4 separate regions of the Homo sapiens genome follow, and regions 1, 2 and 3 are each linked to region 4. Evidence: promoter capture Hi-C in 16 types of primary human blood cells and fetal thymus (Javierre and others, 2016). All regions are on one chromosome and are shown on one strand. Each heading gives the region's core, a stretch centred on a gene start or on the middle of the fragment in contact. The rest is flanking DNA. Distances are from core to core; before and after follow the strand shown.

Evidence for each region. Contacts are between HindIII fragments. The CHiCAGO score rates a contact against its expected background, and 5 or more counts as called.
Region 1: a contact is called between a fragment that was not itself captured here and the fragment with the promoter of LRRC40 in region 4, in 1 of 17 cell types (total CD4 T cells). The highest score is 5.0, in total CD4 T cells.
Region 2: a contact is called between a fragment that was not itself captured here and the fragment with the promoter of LRRC40 in region 4, in 14 of 17 cell types (total CD8 T cells, naive CD8 T cells, activated CD4 T cells and 11 more). The highest score is 33.6, in total CD8 T cells.
Region 3: a fragment that was not itself captured here is called in contact with the fragment with the promoter of LRRC40 in region 4 in 10 of 17 cell types (total CD8 T cells, naive CD8 T cells, naive B cells and 7 more); the score reaches 23.1 in total CD8 T cells.

What each region holds. Positions count from the first base shown.
Region 1 is chr1:71,104,895-71,107,777 of GRCh38, reverse strand. The region is part of intron 2 of ZRANB2-DT (ZRANB2 divergent transcript); the gene reads right to left. Among named protein-coding and RNA genes, the nearest start is that of ZRANB2-DT, 25 kb to the right of the region's middle. The HindIII fragment of the contact is 3,922 bases long and covers 1-2,883 here.
Region 2 is chr1:71,070,332-71,073,271 of GRCh38, reverse strand. ZRANB2 (zinc finger RANBP2-type containing 2) reads left to right here. Exons shown (of 10, transcript NM_203350.3): 5 at 724-800; 6 at 1,017-1,151; 7 at 2,276-2,445. Among named protein-coding and RNA genes, the nearest start is that of MIR186, 4.1 kb to the right of the region's middle. The HindIII fragment of the contact is 3,187 bases long and covers 36-2,940 here.
Region 3 is chr1:71,086,891-71,089,930 of GRCh38, reverse strand. All of the region lies in intron 1 of ZRANB2-DT (ZRANB2 divergent transcript), which reads right to left. LOC105378795 (a long non-coding RNA gene) reads left to right here and starts at 975. Exons shown (of 3, transcript XR_001737669.2): 1 at 975-1,123; 2 at 2,847-2,987. The HindIII fragment of the contact is 2,012 bases long and covers 388-2,399 here.
Region 4 is chr1:70,204,268-70,207,179 of GRCh38, reverse strand. LRRC40 (leucine rich repeat containing 40) reads left to right here and starts at 1,601. Exons shown (of 15, transcript NM_017768.5): 1 at 1,601-1,790. The coding sequence starts at 1,640. It also overlaps a transcript of SRSF11 not described here. RefSeq lists enhancers at 1,378-1,687, 1,948-2,007. The HindIII fragment of the contact is 8,465 bases long and covers 1-2,912 here.

The sequences.
Region 1 (2,883 bases), core at 308-2,807, 900 kb before region 4:
TCGCGCCACTGCACTCCAGCCTGGGCGACAGAGCGAGAGCCCGTCTCAAAAAAAAAAATAAAAAGTTATTTTTGTTAGTTGAAAGGAAGAATTTCTGAACATTTTCATATCCTGTTCACCTATACAGTTATTTTTATTGTACATTGTACATGTAATTGTGAGGCAATTGAGTAGCAAAATGAAAGAAGAAAACCTTGTTTCATTAAACCTGGCAGAAAATTGGTATGGCTGAATTTTATTATCATGCCTAAGACTAATTAATTAGAACTGAGATTTCTGGTATTGCCTAGAACTATTTTTACATACACAAAGGAACATGCCTAGAGTGTAATTAGAAATCTCTTTATTATGACACTTTTGAGGAATATGAGGGATATGGAAATATAGAGATAAATGCTTGTCCATTTCTTTTAAAGATTATTAGTGATATTTACTGAATATAAGACATCGATATCTAGATATGTATTCCTTGCTCTTTTGAATGACTCAGTGCCCCGCCAAAAGCAAGCTGGTACGCCCAGCCTCAAATAATCTTAATGATATTATTTACTCCAAGGCTCATCGTTGATGCCTGTCACAGGGTAGATGCTCAATGTCTGTTTGTTGAATTATTGAATGAATGAAAGAACTGGAATTTATCCAGTTAGTGAGTCAGTCAGGAAGACTTTTCCACTTTCAGAAATGTTCTATTAAAGTACAAATGTACATTGTACAGTGTTCCCAAAAGTCAGCTCATATTTTTGACTGCATCAGTGTTACTCGGAGTGTGTTGTAAATTTAACTTCCTGTACCCCACCTCATACTACTACTGCTAAATACTTTAAGCAACATGAGGTCTAAGAATCTTCATTTCTAACAGTCTCCCCAGTTGACTGGCATGCACAGTATTGACAGGAAGCTGGAGAATCAGTTTGGAAACAACAAAAACTAGGGCAGATTCATTCAGAGAATGAGAAAACAGGAAAGACGGTCAGAGGCTCAGGGGGAAAATAGTCTGGTCAGGGCACCAACCACTGCTGGAAATGAAACAATGCTGAACGTTTGTTTCACCGTGTTCAAGATTCAAATTTGAGAAAAGGACTGACTACAGGACTACCCGGGGTCAGGTTGGTACCTTTGTTTAGGGTGAGGTAAGGGCCATCATTAATAGTTTCACTAGACTGTATCAGATTAAGAAGACATTTTTCTACAAACATAAACCAAAATGCTGGTAGAAATTAGGAATGTTTTCTAGGAAGCCAAAAATAAAAATTACAGACATAAGGCTATACACAATGAAATGGAGTGCCTCATAAAGCAGCATGTGTACTGTCAACACAGAACTTAATACCAGACTTTCGCTCAACTTGAACAATATAGAAAGAATTCCTGCCTCAAGTGCCATTGGATAACCTTGAAATTTGTCTCCCATTGAGAGTCTGTTCCTCTGTATTACTAATTGAATCCCAAAATCATCCAATTCAGCATTTAAAAATCAATCAAACATTGTTTGAAATCCTTTAGAAAAACTAAATAATTGATTATGATGGTGACTTTTTTGCTTTTACACATTTTAATTGTGTCTAATGATAGAATACTAGGTAATGTTTATCGTAGGAAAGAATAATGAATCGTAATCTGCTCAGCTCTTGGCCCTTCTAGCCAACCAACTCCTTTCACTCATATGCCCACTGTTCCCTAAAGAAAAACCTCAGTTATCTGATCCTCTACCATTGTCAAATTAGGACATTGTCAAAGAACCACCTATTCACTCCCGAAAGGCTTTTGCTCTTTTCATATCTTATTTCTTTGCTAAAAGTTTTTTGGCTTAATTTTTGGCCCAGAAAATCTAATGTTCTTTCTTTCCTCTGACAGATTTCTTCTTTCTTTCTTCTGACAGATTTGCCAATCCCTTTGGCTCACTGCATTCCCATGGTCCTGGGTAAGAACTGCATACTCTTCACCATCCTGGAACCTAATTAATAACCCCTTCTCAACTTGGTTCATGTTGGCCAGATCATTCTCCAACTCCCATTTAAGCAAGAAAGTTTAATTAAATATGTGACATATTTAAATAAGTATGTGACATGGTTGAATATGGAGAGGCCCACTATTTAGCCAGGAAGTAAACTTTGACAAAACATCCAAGTAATTCAGTAACTTCATAGTCACATCATTTTTCAGGGATTTAAATGTATATGTGTTTGGCTTTTCTGATTCATGTCATTACTCTTTCAATGATAGAATGGACATGGTACATTGCGCTGAGAGGAATACCTCATTACCTTTCACGTTCTCTGAATTGCACAGTGTTGCCTAAAAATATCTTTTCACCAGAAGAGCCTAGAACAGCACTCAAAAGAGAGCCGTGTTTGCCCTTACACTGATCTTAGTCAGTAGACACCAATGGATTATTGAGCTGCATGCTGCTCATAAATCAACACATATTATGCTTATATTGTCCTGCATTTTAGTCTTTCATCTATGTACTAAGGGACATTTAATGTTAAACTAATGTAAGAATTGTCTTTTATCTGTATGGTTTGTTTCGGATTATTTTCTTTAGTATATTTACCAATGACCAACCTCTTCAAAACTTCATACATACTGATGATCTATGTAACGTATCCAGGGAAATAATTTTATTTCTCTCAAGAAAAAAGTTACATATTCAATGAATCAATATTCAGACTATGATGAAAATCAACTTTTTGACAACATAATCATGCTGTAGTTGAAGATTTTATTGGTGCCACAAAGAAGTCAATTCTAAAATAGATCTGTAATAGAAGCTCACTGGCTATTCACCTGAACTCTGTTCACATAGGAGGTAATATTGGTTCAAGTATTATTAAAGCACATGAAAAGATAAAAAGTAAGCCTTATGACATAAAATTAATTCCA
Region 2 (2,940 bases), core at 380-2,879, 870 kb before region 4:
CTCATTTTCTTTAATTCCAGTCTCTCCTTTAAGCTTATGTCAGAGACCTGCCAATTGAATTGTATACATTGGTTGTGACATGAGAGAATAGTGGTTTGCTAATCTCAACTACTTTTTAATAGAATCATTTAATTTCAAAATTTACTGGCTACTTCAGAGAACCTGTGTGACTTTTACCTATGTGTTAAAACCAATTAAACCAGGGCCAAAGGATGGCCTTTATTGTGTTATTGTGTTTGTCTGTGTAATTAGGAATTTTCCAAGCTCTAATAAGGCCTGCTACATTTTAAAGTAGCAAAATTTCAGAATATCAGAAGATTTCAGACTATTTGCAGTTGGTAAACAGTGGAATTTAATGCTTGGTTGTTACTGAGCCCACCCTTCCCAGAAGAATTACGATTAACTGTAGAGGAAAGTCCTTTAAAACTTGGTTATAGCAGAAGTTTGAGATGTTTTCCACCAATACTTTCTATGAATTAAATAAGTCATGTAGGGCAATTTGGAATTGAAAAGAGCTAGAAGTACAGCCATATGACGTTACAACTAAGTTCTCTGTATTTTCTGTGGTGATTTCTAATATGCTTTCTAAAGACTAGTAATTTATTAGATGGGTAGGCAGCCATTGTTGATTAGATGTTTTTTGTTGTCTGGAGATTTGGGCATGATGTGTTTATTATTTAAATCAATTGTCATAGGGTAACAATTTGTGCCCTCTTTTTTAAGGATATGGTGGTGGTTTTAATGAAAGAGAAAATGTTGAATATATAGAAAGAGAAGAATCTGATGGTGAATATGATGAGGTAAGCTATATTTTGGTGTTCAGGTTGAATATAAATTAGAAAAACAGAAAAAATTCTTAAATGCAAAGGAAAACAAACTTTTTTTTAAGTGCAATTTGAGTCTTCAGCAACTGATCATTTTCAGGAAATCATAAATATCTAAAATAATTTTTTAGAAAATGTATTAAGTTTAATGCATTATCAGCTGACAAGCATTTTGAAATTGTTTTTCTCTAGTTTGGACGTAAAAAGAAAAAATACAGAGGGAAAGCAGTTGGTCCTGCATCTATATTAAAGGAAGTTGAAGATAAAGAATCAGAGGGAGAAGAAGAGGATGAGGATGAAGATCTTTCTAAATATAAGTTAGATGAGGTGAACAATTTTCTTGTCCTATTTCCCTTTTGTCTTATTGGAGTTATACCATAACATGAATGCTTTTGACAGCCTCAGACACTTGGTGAAAATATATTCTGTGTTTTCATTTGTTCTCACAAAGGTTTTGGATTTCCACTCTGCCAAGTACTATTTGTACTTGGAACACTACTGTTCTGGAGATACAGTGGTGACCGAAACAGAACCAGTTTTCTCTTACACAGTTCTAGAGGAGGAAATATATAAATAGGTAATTTTGATAGCAGTAACGTTATGAAGACACATGATGTGATAACAGTTTAAAAGCAACTTTGGTTTTGCCGATGGATAATGTCTAAGGAGGTGAAGTTTGAGCTGAAACTTGAATGATAGGAAGGAGCCAGCAATAAGAGCCGAGGTGAGAGCACATTTAGGCAGAGAACAGCAAATACGGGTTCCCTAAATAGGAGATAAGCCAGCAGCCTTCAAAAATACCATACATAGGCCAGTATAGTTAGAGCAGAGGGGAGAATGAGATGAGGGGGACAGCACACATTTCAGGTCTGGTGATACTTGTTCTGTCAGGCCAGAGTGTAAGTTTTATGCCATGTTAAGGGTACCTTAGAGCCTGATCATAAGAGGTCTTGGAATGCAACTAAAGAAATAATAAGCCAGTTTTGAAGTTTTTAAGAAAAAAGTGAGATGTGTTTATCTGTCCTGTGTTTCAGAGTGATGACTGTCAGTATATTGAGATACTAGAGAGGCAGAATGGATCTTCAGATTTGAGGAGACCAGCTAAGAGGTTACTATAATATGCTAGAGAATAAGGAACAGAGTGTCTAAGACTAAAAATGGTGATTTCAAGGACTTTTAAGGAGGTGGACTTGAAAATTCTTGGGTGATGCATAAGTGTGACAGAAAAAGTGTGTATGGCCTCCAGGTTTATGTCTGTGCAATACCTGAGACAAAGTTGTCAAGTCTCTATTTGAGATGAGTTTAGTAGGTGAATTTTAGAATTCAGAATTAATTTGCTGAGATACCTGTGATATATGCATATGGAGGTGCTCAGTACACCTAACTGTTTTATCTTTCCTGGTAGGTAACACTAATATCTAAATGTCTAATTATAATTGAATTTTTGTTAGGATGAGGATGAAGATGACGCTGATCTCTCAAAATATAATCTTGATGCCAGTGAAGAAGAAGATAGTAATAAAAAGAAATCTAATAGACGAAGTCGCTCAAAGTCTCGATCTTCACATTCACGATCTTCATCACGCTCATCCTCCCCCTCAAGTTCAAGGTCTAGGTCCAGGTAAACGGGTACAGGTCAAGGGTAACACCAGTCAAAATGTCAGTATCTAACTTTTTTATTTATAAATTTTGTTTTTCTTGACGAAATAAACTTTCCTTTTTATTTTAAAAATTTAATTCAAATCAACTTTTAAAATAATTTTTCAGCTTAGTACCATACAGTTGTTGTCCAGTATTTTTAGAAAAGTAAAGTCTTAGCATGAAACTTCCTTAACCTATTTTAGCCTCATGCTTTTGACTAAAATAGACTTAAAAACTGAATTAAATTTTTATATACACTTATATTTAATTAATCTAAAGAGATAGCTTACATATAGAAATTAAGTAAAGGGGAGATCTGTATTTTCATTCAAGATGTTAAAGGCTAGCACAGAAATTTTCTAGGCATTAAATCATTGCTTATTACATAATGTTTTTAATAGTTTGCTTTGATATCAGTATTGTGAATAACGGAGCAAATTCAGCCATATTAGTTCTGTTGACTTCATGCTCATAA
Region 3 (3,040 bases), core at 144-2,643, 880 kb before region 4:
AATCTAAAGTTCTAACATAGCAAATGAATTTCTTTAACAGGCAGGGTACACAAACAACTATCCTACTGACCTGATAATCCAAAAGAACTTTTTATTTGGCCAAGACAACATTTATGTTTAGGTTGAATTTGAAAGGCTTTGAACAGCTCATCACATTTTCCCTCATTCCCTAGTGTTTTACACAGGCCTGCATCATTGATTTATGTTACTGCCTGAACCCTGTAAACATTTGAGTTTTTCTTTCATGGTTTAATACTTGATTTAACTGAAAATCCCTTTATAAGAATGTAAACTTTAGGCAGGGTGCGGTGGCTCACGCCTGTAATCCTAGCACTTTGGGAGGCCAAGATGAGTGCATCGCTTGAGATCAGGAGTTCCAGACAAGCTTGGCCAACGTGGTGAAACCCCATCTCTACTAAAAATACAAAAATTAGCTGGGAGTAGCGGTGCATGCCTATAACCCCAGTTACTCGGGAGGCTGAAGCAGAAGAATCGCTTGACCCCAGGAGGTGGAGAGGTGGAGGTTGCAGTGAGCCGAGATCGTGCCATTGCACTCCAGCCAGACTCCGTCTCAAAAAAAAAAAAAAAAAAGGACACTTTAAACTGTTTTTAGTTATTTACACTAGGATGTAAACAGTTTTTCAACTGTTTTTCACTGTGGGGGATGAGAGTTTTTGAAGAAGGTAAGACTGAAGGAATAACAGGATGGGGACTAGGGTGAGCCAGATGCCTAGGGTTCAACATTTAAGGAGGCGCTCATTCTCAAGTGATAACTCCAGGCTCAGCACCTGAGACTGCCTCCTTAAATGTCATGCCCTGTTTGTGTTATTTGCCTCGCTCTTATCCCAGTCCTTTAAGGATAAAGTTTAACCAGCTTTGGTTTCTGTTACTTGTGATGAAGTATCCTTAATGCATTTCCCTTCCCCACCCATGAACTGAGGGAGTCATTCTTCCTGGGAACACCCATAATATCCTCTGATTATACCTATACTATACTTACAACACAGTTTTCTCACTATTTACACATCCATATGCATCGGCACTCTGTGCGCTCCTTAAACAAAGAGACTGTGACATAATCTTCTTTATAGCTGCAATATCTAGTCCTGTACCTGTTGAGTGGGTAAGTCAATGAATGAATGGACAAATAAATAAATGAGTGTGTTGTCAGAATTGAACATGCCATACCTGCTGTGGCATGGCACAGGTGTGTGAAATCCTTCGTCAGTAAAAACATTTTATTTTTGCTATAGATAGATGGCAAACTTCAACCTGCTTTTATTCTAATTGTGATATGATTTTTCTCATAACTTTGTATGTAGCATTTGAATTGTTCCAGTTTTTTATTTAAACATACGTGCTCAAGAAAGAACTGCAGTAGATTTGTGACTGACACCGTATATATGCTTTTGCCCTCAGTCTCCAGCAGGGCCAGCCTCCTTGACCTAATTAGACTTCTCACTCCCACATGGCTGGTAAATACTATAATTAATTTATAAAGGACTCTGAAACACCAACTGGCAAAAATTCCCTATTAATGGTTTCTACAGAATGAAAAGAGCATTTAAGTTGTAGGAGAGTTGTTGTTGTGTGTGTGTGTGTGTGTGTGTGCGCACATGTATTCACATTTTTTAATGTAGTGAATTTCTAAGAATGTCAAATCATAACACGTACTAAGTAAACAATGTTTAATAACGTCTTGTCATTTCTTTCAGCACATTTATTTTAAATTTGAAAGAAATCTGTGTGACAAAATATTCTTAGAGATGTATATTTGGGGTATGTGAGACTTGAGTGTCCATGAATACTCACACACATCCCATAAACTATGCCATTCTTAAAATAAAGTTAAAGAGAAAAATATAGACCATCAGTTTAAGAAGGATGTCTCAATGATTTGAGAAAGCAACAACTGTAGTGGCCTTTGGAGTATTTGCCTATTCAGAAGCCATGGTTGGCAGAATTTCAAGATGGCTCCCAAGATTTCTGTGTCCTGGTGTACATGCCCTGTATTATACCCTCTCTGTGAGTGTGGGCAGGACCTGTGAATACAATGAGATGGCACTCCTTTGATTAGTTTATGTTATATGGCAAAGGGGACGGAACCATTTCTCCTCTGATTACATTATATTATATAAGACTTTATAGCAGTAATAGTTATAGTAGTAGTATATAGTAGTAATGGTAGTGGCAGCAGCAGCAGCCAACTGGAGAGAAATTCTCCTGCTGGCTTTGGAGAAGTAAACTCCGTTTTGAGATGGCCATGTAATTAGGACCTGAGGGCAGTCTCTAGAAGCTGAGAGAACCCCCTGGCCAACATCTCCCAAGAAAATAGGGACCTCTGATGTAAAGTTTCAGGGAACTAAATTCCACTAACAACCTGAATATGCCTAAAAGCTTCAGATGAAATTGCAGCTCCACTTGGCACCTTGATTGCTGCCTAGTGAAACCCTAAGCAGATAATCCAATTAAGCTATGCCCAGACTTCTCATCCACAGAAACTGAGAGATAACAAATACATGTTACTTTAAGCTTCTAAGGTTGTGGTAATTTGTTACTTGGCACTAGAAAACCAATACAAGAACCAACTGCTTTTTCTTTTCTGTGGGCACTACCCTTTACTCCCCTTGTCCCACAGGAGTGCCTCCTAGCAGTCAGGTCTATACATTACACCATGATCCTGAAAAACTGACATAGCTGATTGGATAGAGGTGCACACCTGACTCAAGCCAGAGCAACTAGAGTCTGGAAATTTGAAGACAGGGCTAAGAGGCTCCAGGTGGGAATTTCTTGAATGGAAGAGAGATAGAAACTTGAACACTTTAGCAACACTATCTTCTGTCCAGGGTTGCCTGTAGATATTAAAAGCCCTGAGGAAATGTTCGAGGAGAGAGAGAATCTATCTATAGCAATCATCTGATTACAAAAATAATTATAAAAGTCATGGACCCATGTGAGATGGAGTGATTTGCTGTTAAAGAGTCAAGGTAAGGAAAAGCTGAAGAGAGTCAAGGTAAGGAAACATAGCTACTTATTGTCC
Region 4 (2,912 bases), core at 352-2,851:
CGACTGACACCTGTAATCCCAGCACTTTGGGAGGCCGAACTGGGCGGATCGCTTGAGGCTGGGAGTTCGAGACCAGCCTGACCAACATGGCGAAACTCCGTCTCTACTAAAAAATATAAAAATTAGCCAGGTGTGGTGGTGCGCGGCTATAATCCCAGCTACTGGAGAGGCTGAGGCAGGAGAATCACTTGAACCTGGGAGGCGGAGGTTGCAGTGAGCCGGGATCACGCCACTGCATTCCAGCCTAGGCGACAGACCAGACTTTGTCTCAAAAAAAAAAAAAAAAAAAAGACAAAAATCCACTCTTTGCTTTTTTAGTAGGGTAACAACTATTGGTAACTTTCTCTTGTTCGATATTAGTGTAAAGGACTCCACAGAAATAAGAACAAAAAGGGTAGAGTTAAAAACCGAATTTTACAGGTAGCAATAACCTGGACTCAGGTAAAAGTGCGTGATGAAGAATTGATCAAAGGGCCTTCATCCTAGCTTTCAACTATTCTACCAATCCTCAGTAGACTTGATGGGGGTTAGAATGGTATTCCCTGGCATATGCTTTTAAAACAAAATCATTTCAGGCAAAAGAAAAGTCTAGCACCCAGGATAGTACACATACTAGGCAGGATTAATCTTAATAATTACTTGTTGAATCAAGAAGTTGTACATTTCAGATGAAAATTTTAATTTCCTAGGAAACACCGACTTACATTGAACAAAATTTTCATTTGCTATTATTCTGGACTCACCGAGAGCTCAAGATTCTAGTTTTTATCTTCACTTATTTCAAAAACCTTATGCGGTAGGAATTATCCCCAAAGTAATGAAAAAAAGGAATGAGCTTTAAAAGCGGTTGAGTAAACTGCCTAAAGTTAACAGTTTCTAAAGTAAAGAAGCAGCTGAGATTTGAACTTGCTTTTTAGGGCTCAAAAATCCAAGCTGTCTGAGCTTCACTAAAGCATGTACCACTACTTGTCTCCCTAAACTGTCTGATACACAGAACATTTATTAAATTTTAAGGATTTTTGTTTTTGTCTTCTATGTTGCCAGTCCTTCCATTTCACATTACCTCCTTTGCTGGGTAAGCTATATACCCTCAATACAACGAGAATGGTGTCAGAGTACAAGCCTTAAGAACAGAAAATTTCTTTTACTCCGTACGCCAGAGGTCTGGCGCCACCACCACAAGCGACAAACACAGGCTGGGGTCCAGAAACGCTGCCGACCGCGCCCAGATCTCAAGTTTTAGTCAAGGCCCACGTTCAGACTAGGAGAGGGGAGAAGAGAGGGTTCTCTTTCCCCACACCCTCGCCACGGTGGAAGCACAGAGGAGAAGGTTGGAGTCGCAGTAACAGTGCAAACAATAAACCCGAAAGCCCCTCTTAAGCCCGTTAAACGCACTTACTTGATTGAAGTAATTCCAGGACGCTAGGCCGGCACCGGCAACGGAAAAGGCTTCTCTGTCCTCCAGCCCAGGCGCTGGTGCTGACGACATCTGGACTGCGCCGCAGAGAGTGAAGGCCCAGCGCGAGGCCGCGAGCCCAGCGCCCAGAGCGCGCGCTCACGAAAGGAGCGGGGCATCCCAACGGCGCCACCTTTAAGCGTCACGGGTGGGGCTGCAGCTTCTGGACCTAGGACTTTGAACATGTCGCGCCTGAAGCGGATAGCGGGGCAGGATCTCCGCGCTGGTTTCAAAGCAGGTGGAAGAGACTGCGGTACCTCGGTACCCCAAGGGCTGTTGAAGGCAGCGAGGAAGAGCGGCCAGTTAAACCTGTCGGGTAGAAACCTCAGTGAAGGTAAGACCCAGAGGTACGACCCTATTGTGTCTCCTGTCAGAAAGCCTTTGGCCCAGGCAACCTCCCTTTTCTCTGGGCTGGCTTTGGCCCCCTTTCTCAGACTGCTAGCCAGAATTTCTGTGCTCTAATCTAATCCCTGTGCTCATTTCGACCGGTTTGGTTAGCCCAGTTCAGTTCCTTCCCAGGTTCCCGCAATCTCTGTTAAAGGGACCCTGCTAAAAATACGGTCTAAATTTAAACGGGGCGCTTTCTGGGATTCCCACATTCTGTGGGATAAGCAACATAATATGTGACGAAACCAGCTATCAAATCACGGGCAAATCTTTTGTTTCTTTGGCCCTTATTTTCCTCCTCTTATTGTAATCTTCAAGGGCAATTACCAAAGCTAAAATTATATGTTTTATCGGCCCCTTTGTGAACCTGCACTGTTCCCTGCCGAGACGCTCTTCTGTATGCAGCTGTGCAGAGTTCTACTTACAAGGAATAATGAGTATATTTTCTAAGTTGAAGATCAGGATAGATGCCACACAGAGTGTTTGAATGTGGGGACATCCTGAGAAACCTGTTAAAGACCAAGAAGCACAAATCTGGGTACCATGAATGAATGGCCAGATGCTCTTCTGATTGTCGTGTGTGTGTGTGTGTGTGTGTGTGTGTAAGAGAGAGAGGGAGGGGAATGGAGAGATGGAGAAATAGAGCATTTTTCCTGTAATGTTTTTCTTCATTTATATTTAGGTTTTAAGACTGATTAAAACCTTCCATTTTCCTTCTAATGATTGCTTTCTTATTGTGACATGTATAAAGTAGATTAGGCAAGCAAATGCTTCTGAATGAATGAAAAGACACAGAATCCTTACTCCACCTAAAAGAGTTTTTGATCAATGGGAACATACTCATTTTCAAACTACAGTTGTGCATATATATATATCTACTTGGTTTCCCCAAAACCTGAAACATTTTTCTCTAAACTTGCATACCTATCATGCTAACATTCTGTTCTCTTACCTGTTTAATTTTTTAACAGCATTTATCACTATCAGAATTTATATCATTTATGTTTTTTGTTTTCTCTGCCCTCCAACCAAAAGGTTAATATCATGAAGTCAGTGAGCTTTGTTTTGT